Regions from separate parts of the Homo sapiens genome. Here all the other regions are linked to region 3. Evidence: promoter capture Hi-C in 16 types of primary human blood cells and fetal thymus (Javierre and others, 2016). All regions are on one chromosome and are shown on one strand. Each heading gives the region's core, a stretch centred on a gene start or on the middle of the fragment in contact. The rest is flanking DNA. Distances are from core to core; before and after follow the strand shown. Region 1 overlaps LINC02733 (long intergenic non-protein coding RNA 2733). Region 2 overlaps INCENP (inner centromere protein). Region 3 holds the start of TMEM258 (transmembrane protein 258).

Region 1 (2,700 bases), core at 122-2,621, 270 kb before region 3:
TGTGACCTCTACAGTGAAAAATCAATCACTTTGTCCAGCCTTTGTTTTATCTACCTGGTATAGGTCGCATTGTGTCCCCTCAAAAGATATATTCAAGTCCTAACCCCAGTCCCTGTGAACATGATTTTATTTAAAAATAAGATCTTTTCTGGCTGGGCGCGGTGGCTCACGCCTGTAATCCCAGCACTTTGGGAGGCCAAGGCGGGTGGATCACAAGGTCAAGAGATTGAGACCATCCTGGCCAACATGATGAAACCCCGTCTCTATTAAAAGTATAAAAATTAGCTGGGCGTGGTGGCGGGTGCCTGTAGTCCCAGCTACTCGGGAGGCTGAGGCAGGAGAATCGCTTGAACCCAGGAGGTGGAGGTTGCAGTGAGCCGAGATCATGCCATTGCACTCCAGCCTGGGCGACAGAGCGAGATGCTGTCTCAAAAAATATAAAAATTAAAAAAAATAAGATCTTTTCTTTCCTTTTATGTTTTAGTTTTTTTTGAGACAGGGACTCACTCTGTCGCCCAGGCTGGAGTGCAGTGGCGAAACCTTGGCTCACTGCACTCTCCATCTCCCAGATTCAAGAGATCCTCCTGCTCCAGCTTCCCAAGTAGCTGCAACTATAGGCACGCACCACCACTCCTGGCTAATTTTTGTATTATTTTGTAGAGACAGACTTTCGCCATGTTGCCCACGCTGGTCTCGAACTCCTGGGCTCAAATGATCCTGCCACCTTGGCTTCCCGTAGTGTTGGGATTACAGGCATGAGCCACCACGCCCAGCCTGGAAATGTGATCTTTTTTAGCTGAGTTAAAATAAAAAAAGAAATAGGATCTTTACAGATGTAACCAAGTAAAAATAAGGTAATACTGGATTCAGGTGGGCTATAACTTCTTCTTTGTAAGAAGAGAGAAATTTGGTCACAGAGGCAGAGACACACACAGAAAGAACACAGCCATGTAAGATGAAGACAGAATCAGGGTGATGCAGTTACAAAGCCAAGGAATGGTATGGATAGCTGGCAACAACCAACAGCTGAAGACTCCTAATTGAGGAAGGAGTCTTGCCTGGAAATTTTGGACTTTTCACCTTCAAAGCTATGAGAGAATAAATCTGTGCTGTTTTGTTTGTTTGTTTGTTTGTTTGTTTGTTTTGAGATGAAGTTTTGCTCTTGTTGCCCAGGCTGGAGTGCAGTGGCGCAATCTCAGCTCACCACAACCTGTGCCTCCCAGGTTCAAGCAATTCTCCTGCCTCAGCCTCCCGAGTAGTTCAGATTACAGGCACCCGCCACCATGCCCAGCTAATTTTTGTATTTTTAGTAGAGACGGGGTTTCTCCGTGTTGGTCAGGCTGGTCTCGATCTCCCAACCTCAGGTGATCCACCCACCTCGGCCTCCCAAAGTGCTGGGATTACAGGTGTGAGCCACCACGCCCGGCCTAAATCTCTGCTGTTTTAAGCCACCCAGCTTGTGGCACTTTGTGACGGCACCCAGAGGACACTAATACAGTCCCTAAATATACCTTCCTTTGAACTCCTCTGGCATGCATCAACTGTGTGTGCAGTTGGATGCTGAACTAACCATAGAGACCAGCATGTATCTTCCATGTGCTTCTCACATTCCCACCACCAGCTCACTAAGGGCTGGATGTTGTCGTTTGGTGTCTTGGCATCACCCACAACAGTTTGTGGAGTGCTGGTGTGAGAGAAGTCCCCTTGTAAGTTGAAATTGAATGAAGAATGGAAATATCAACAGATCAACTGCTAGATAGGGGCTACAAGGCAATGACTCAGATTCATGATAGATCTAGGGGTCTTTGCTGCCTGTGAAAGCCCTGAGTTGATACAGATTTGGGTTTAATTTCGGCCTTCTCCATACTTTATCTTTATCCCTCAAATTCAGGCTTTAGCTGCTGTTCTCCAATTCCTCCAAGGCTGGACACTGTGGAAAGAGTTTTTAAGGCTTCTTCTCTGCCTGATACTTCTGGTCTGAGTGCTGGTGAGGGAGGCACCAAGATGGAGGGACGTTAAAGGGCTTTGTCCTTGATCCTCTCTTCATTTGCTCCATCGGTAGGTGGGTATCCAAGTCTGGTGGTGTTCATCAGGGCCTTCCCAGGCAAAGGAGGAAGGAACATTGGAAGAGAAGATCAAGGGGGAGAAATAGCCCACAAGAAAGCAGAAGAAATAGGCTGGGCGCTGTGGCTCATGCCTGTAATCCCAGCACTTTGGGAGGCCGAGGTGGGTGGATCTTCTGAGGTTGGGAGTTTGAGACCAGCTTGACCAACATGGAGAAACCCCATCTCTACTAAAAATACAAAATTAGCCAGGCGTGGTGGCAGGTGCCTGTAATCCCAGGTACTCCGGAGGCTGAGGAGGAGAATCACTTGAACCCAGAAGGCAGAGGTTGTGGTGAGCCAAGACCAGGCCATTGCACTCCAGCCTGGGCAACAAGAGTGAAACTCAAAAAAAAAAAAAAAAAAAAAAAAAGGAAAAAAGATAGCAGAAGAAATAGAAAGCTCCAGGGAAAAGTGAAAACTTCAGAGCTGGTTAGTTGGTGTGACATTATGATACATATGTATTGGTTCTCACCCATGGTTTCTGGCTCATAACTCCCATAGCCCTTGTCATAGTCTTTTGTGATAATATTGGGGTGTTTTAGGCCTCTGACCCAGCCTCAGAAAACAGAATCTCTCTCCCTGACCTTCTCCTGCC
Region 2 (2,791 bases), core at 102-2,601, 340 kb before region 3:
CACTTGGAAGACGTGCATAACTTGGTGAAACAATATTTTCGAAATGATCGATGTATGTGGTTATGAAATCAGACACATCTAAAAGATCCATTCAAAGTGTGGCCAGTTGTGGTGGCTCACGCCTGTAATCCCAGCACTTTGGGAAGCCGAGGCAGACGGATGATTTGAGGTCAGGAGTTTGAGACCAGCCTGGCAACATGGTGAAACCCCGTCTCTACTGAAAAGACAAAAATTATCCGGGCGTCGGTGGGCACCTGTAATCCCAGCTACTCGGGAGGCTGAGGCAAGAGAATCACTTGAACCGGGAGGCAGAGGTTGCAGTGAGCTGAGATCGCACCACTGCACTCCAGCCTGGGCGACAGAGTGAGATTTCATCTCAAAAACAAAACAAAACAAAAAAAAACAAAACAAAGTGCAAGGTAGACCCGTGTGGAATCAGCAACATGGTTTCAGATTCCACACCACAACAAACCTTTAAGAACTACCACTTCTTGCGCTGGTCCTGATAACAAAGAATATGCATAATTATCTGAAAAAGCTATGAAGATACTCCTCCCTTTCCCAACTACACGTCTATGTGAGGCCAGATGTTCTTTAGCTACTTTTTTTTTTTGAGACAGAGTCTCACTGTATCACCCAGGCTGGAGTGAAGTGGCGTGAATTCAGCTCACTGTAACCTCCACCTCCCGGTTTCAAGCAATCCTCCTGCCTCAGCTTCCTGAGTAGCTGGGACTACAGGCACGTGCCACCACGCCCAGATAATTTTTTGTATTTTCAGTAGAGACAGGGTTTCACCATGTTGGCCAAGACAGTCTCAATCTCTTAACCTCATGATCTGCCCACCTCGGCCTCCCAATGTGCTGGGATTACAGGTGTGAGCCACCTCGCCCGTCCAGTTCTTCAGTTACTTTAACCCAAACAACACAATGCAACAACAGATCAAACGCAGAATGTGGCTTATTTAAAGTCATACAATAAAGAGATTTGCAAAATGTAGAATAATGCCAGTGTCTTCAGTACATTTTTGTTTTGGAAAAGTTATTTTTTCATAAAAAGTCTTAATGTAAACAGGTGATAGGCTTGGTACTTGCATTTTATAATGTTAAAATATTAAACAATATTTTTAAATCTTTAAAGTACTAAATATTCATATAAAAATATTAATATTTAAAATACTTTTAAACTCCTCAGTTTTAATTTTTAATACAGTAACGATCAATAGATATAACCTCATAATCAAAGCTTTTTTTTTTTTTTTTTTAACAGAGTCTCACTCTGTCTGGAGTGCAGTGGCACAATCTCAGCTCAGTGCAGCCTCGACCTCCTGGGTTCAAGCAATCCTCCCACCTCAGCCTCCTGAGTAGCTGGGACTACAGGCACATGCCACCATACCTGGCTAATTTTTTCCATTTTGGTAGAGATAGGGTCTGGCCATGTTGTCCAGGCTGTCAAAAGCTTTTTGAGGCTGAGGCTTAATCATTAAAAACAGGAAGCCCAGGTCCCTCACCCTCAGCACTCACCCTGGTATCCTCACCACAGCTGCTAGCTTTATGTCCCCGGCTTCTTCCTAGCTGGGAGCATGCCTGTTCCCAGTGCCACTGGTCTAGGGAGAAGGAGGGCCAAGGCCATGAGGCAGGAAAAAAAGAGGCTTTTTTGGGGAACAGAGAGAAGGTAGCTGAGCTGGCGCATCCTGAGCCATGGGGGCTTGGTCAGAGTTCAGGCTGGGAGGTGGCCAGCGGGAGGTTGGGGTGCACAGGGTCTCAGGAAAAGAGGGAAGACAGCAGGCCAGGCACAGAGAAGGGAAGCCAGGACCCTTCCTGGGTATAGCAGCCAGGTTTGGGGAGGTGGTGGGAGCAGCTGCAGCGCCGGGCTGACAGTCATGGGTGGTGATGACCCCCATTTAAGGGGTTTATACCCAGAAGATACATCCTCCTCATCTCCCCATGCTGTGTCATCCCAGCTCACGTGCTCCCTGATGAAGACGCCCATGTGACTACATGGCTCTCCCACCAGCACAAGCATTCTCTGGAATGCTAAGTGCCATCTGCACGACATTCAGGCCTCAGAGCTGGTCTGGTGGTAGGGAAGTGGCCTAAGCACTGGCAGAGGGATGGAAGGACTGTTCTCCAATGCAGAGGTGGCTCGAACGCCCCAAGGTGGAGTCCTGAGGCAGTGGGCCTGTCCCTTCCTATCCACTTCAGAACTGCTGCCCGATGGGCCCCGCAGGCACGTGCGCACCAGGCCAGGAGGCAGGGGATTCCTGCTGACACACAGCAGTTCCACGCCCCGGGGCCACACTCTGGCTTCCAGAAGCCCCCTCCACCCACGCTGACTGCTGGCTTTTTTTCCTATCTCATTTTTCCATTCCTCTGGTGCAGGTGTTTCCTTCCCATCCCGAATTTAATTTTTGGGAAATTAAATTTGTTAATTTCCCAAAAATTAACAAATTGAACTCAAATCCTTGTGTCAAGGGCTGCTCGTGGGGAACACCCAAACCAAGACCCCACCTTGGAGCTGCCCGAGAGCCTCTCCCAGAGCCTGGTATCAGGAAGACCCCCAGGAAGCCTCCTCCCCTGTCACCGCCCCACTCCCTGACACCCTTGCAGCTCCTCACTAGGGGTCGGCCTTGTCGCACCCAAACTGAGCATCAGCCATTGGTGAGTTTTCTCAAATAAGATGTACTGAGTATCCACTACACTCAAGCACTAAGATGAGTTATCTATTCACATTCAAAGCAAGTGTTATCACCATTTCACAGAAAAGCTGAGGTTGAGAGAAGGGGTGTGCCCAA
Region 3 (2,700 bases), core at 200-2,699:
TCCAGGCTACAGTGAGCTATGATTGTGCCACCACACTCCAGCCTGGGCAACAGAGCAAGACCCTGTCAAGAAAAGAAAAGAAGACAAAAGAAAAGAGAAAGAAGAAACGAAAGACTCCATCAGGCCTTTTCATTGTTCCCACTCTTTCTTCACAGGGTTCTTTCTAGAGCATCAATGACTGTTCAATTCTTCCTTCTAATTCAGTCCAAACACTTCAGCATGGCATCACGATCTTTCATGTTCTGGTTCCCAACCTAACCCTACATTCTGGGATCTCAACAGAAAGCTGGAATAAGGCCCGCCTTTTCCCACTTTTCCTTAGCTGTGCCCTCCTCTCGCCATCCTCTCACGCGTCCTTCCAGGTCCATCCCTGGATTATTAATCAATTAATAATTAATTGACAATGAATTATTCATTTGATTAATATGAATAATTCCCCTGTGAACTGCAGCGGCAAAAGCTCTGGCCTTGAATCTAGGCGCGGCATTTACCATCCGTGTGACATTACCAAGCCACTGAGGTTTATTTTCTCGTCTACAGAAGAAGAACGATTACCATGCCTGTCTCTCAGGGCTGCTGCCAGGGTTAACTGAGACAACAGACAGAAACCTCTAATGTCCCCTCTCCAGGCCTGTTCAACCCTTCGGCTCTTGCCTCAAGCCGGCCGCGCTGCTGGAGTGTGGACTGAGGACCAGACCATGTAGCCCTTGATCCCCTCACGGCGTCCCACAGACAGGTAGGCAGGAAAGGGGCCTAAACAACTCAAGTGTCAGAAATGTTTCTCGTCCAAGGTCTTAGGAAAAATACAACACGACCCCATAAGGTGGAACTTATTACCGCTTTTCTACAATGGAGGAAAGAGAGGCTCGGAGCTTACGCGACTGGCCCAAGGCTCACAGGGGGAAAAGTGGCGGGACCTCTTGACTGCGAATCCCGCGCACTCCAGACCCCGGCTCCCCACGGCCCCCAGCGCCAAGCGGACCCCGTCGCTCCCGGAGGCGCTTCCCATGGGGTCTCACCTGGCCTTTGGGACACGCGGCCTCGGCGGCTAAAGCTTGGTTCGGGGTTGCCCCGGGCAGGCGGTCCTAAGCTCGCTCTCCCTTCTCAGCTTAGCGGCGGGTGGCCTGACGTTCAGCCGCCTTCCAAAGCCCGCGCTCCCGTCACGTGACCTGCTCGCCACGCACAGCCTCTTGGGGCGCGTAGTGCAGGCTGCGTCCCCTCAGACGGCTGCTCTCATGGCAACCAGTCCCTCCAGGGAGAACAGAGTCTCTCAGCGACCCTGGCGTACCCTTCTCCACCGCTTGTCCCCACTCCACCCACACCAGGTCCCCGCAGGCCCCTGCTCCCTCTACACCCGAAATCGCAGGACTACAAGTCCCTCAATGCCACTTGCGCCGGAGGCACTTCCTTTTCCGGTTGTGCTAGGCGCCTGCTCCTGCCGACGTGTTCTTCCGGTGGCGGAGCGGCGGATTAGCCTTCGCGGGGCAAAATGGTGAGAGCGTTGAGGGGAGTTCCAGACGGAGATGCGAGGACCCCTCGGGGTCTGACCCACACCGCGCTTATCTCCTCAGACGCCGGAGATCCAGAGGGCTAGACGCTCCTGGAACCTCCGGCTTGGGCTGAAGGGTGGGGAAGGGGGAAGCCCCTTGCCATGAACTCCTTAGGTTTCTCAGCTCGCGATTTCTAAGGGCGAGAGGCGTGGGGCGAATTTTGAATACCTTCCAGTTTGTATATCTCTGTTATCGGTGGTGTGTTATCTTTATTTGGAAAGTTCTTCTGCCGAACCCGTGCCCATCCTACAATGCCCTGGGCAAATGTTTATTGGTGAAGCACTTCCAACTCTCAGGCACTTGGCCAGACTTTCCTAGGAGCGCCCACAGCCTCTGTACAGATCTCTGGCCACGTTCCATGGACTTCTTTGTTTTCGGCCACGCCTCCTAGTGACCACCGTCTGACGCGCATCTAGCTCTGGGATGATGTCTATTCATCTTTGTATTCTCAGTGCCAAACAGAGGGCCCGTAATTGGAAGCTCAATAAATGGCAGTGATTGTCTTTATCATTTTGGGGGAAGGGGGCCGTGATTGTTTACTGAATTGAATTCCAGTGTCTCAGAACAATGGGGGCAGTTTACTTCTCTAGAGTTGTTATGTTCTGGATTTTAGAAGCATTGGCTGACCGGTGACAATGAAGTTAACATTTGTACAGATCTTTACGTTTACAGCCCTCTTTCATAAAAGACATTATCTCATCATCTTCCCTACAGCCTTAGGAAGGAAGCAAATACCTGTTGAGCAAAATACTCCCTGCTAGGCACTAGATGCTTTGATTCATCATCTTTCTTATTTTTCAGTTCTGTGAAATAGATATTACAGTCGCTTTACTCAGACTCAGATTACTCAGAACCAGAACTTGAATGTCTTGACCATAGCTCACAAGATTCCATAATAGCATAGGTAGTGAGGAAAATACTGAATTAGAAATTGAGGGCCAGGCGCGGTGGTTCACTCCTGTAATCCCAGCACTTTGGGAGGCTGAGGCGAGCGGATCAGGAGGTCAGAAGTTCAAGACCAGCCTGGCCAGCAAGGTGAAACCCTGTCTCTCCTAAAAATACAAAAAATTAGCCGGGCATGGTGGTTCACGCCTGTAATCCCAGCTGCTCGGGAGGCTGAGGCAGGATAATCACTTGAACCCAGAAGGCG

The links. Contacts are between HindIII fragments. The CHiCAGO score rates a contact against its expected background, and 5 or more counts as called.
Region 1: a fragment that was not itself captured here is called in contact with the fragment with the promoter of TMEM258 in region 3 in 2 of 17 cell types (neutrophils and monocytes); the score reaches 9.4 in neutrophils.
Region 2: a contact is called between a fragment that was not itself captured here and the fragment with the promoter of TMEM258 in region 3, in 1 of 17 cell types (total CD8 T cells). The highest score is 5.4, in total CD8 T cells.

What each region holds. Positions count from the first base shown.
Region 1 is chr11:62,064,561-62,067,260 of GRCh38, reverse strand. The region is part of intron 1 of LINC02733 (long intergenic non-protein coding RNA 2733); the gene reads left to right. Among named protein-coding and RNA genes, the nearest start is that of LINC02733, 16 kb to the left of the region's middle. The HindIII fragment of the contact is 8,726 bases long and covers 1-2,700 here.
Region 2 is chr11:62,132,873-62,135,663 of GRCh38, reverse strand. All of the region lies in intron 4 of INCENP (inner centromere protein), which reads right to left. Among named protein-coding and RNA genes, the nearest start is that of INCENP, 10 kb to the right of the region's middle. The HindIII fragment of the contact is 213 bases long and covers 1,245-1,457 here.
Region 3 is chr11:61,791,348-61,794,047 of GRCh38, reverse strand. TMEM258 (transmembrane protein 258) reads left to right here and starts at 1,449. Exons shown (of 4, transcript NM_014206.4): 1 at 1,449-1,492. The coding sequence starts at 1,490. It overlaps FEN1 (flap structure-specific endonuclease 1), which reads right to left and starts at 1,137. Exons shown (of 2, transcript NM_004111.6): 1 at 1,020-1,137. It overlaps MIR611 (microRNA 611), which reads left to right and starts at 1,487; the gene lies at 1,487-1,553. RefSeq lists enhancers at 248-1,223, 1,137-1,431, 1,224-2,201. The HindIII fragment of the contact is 6,270 bases long and covers 1,057-2,700 here.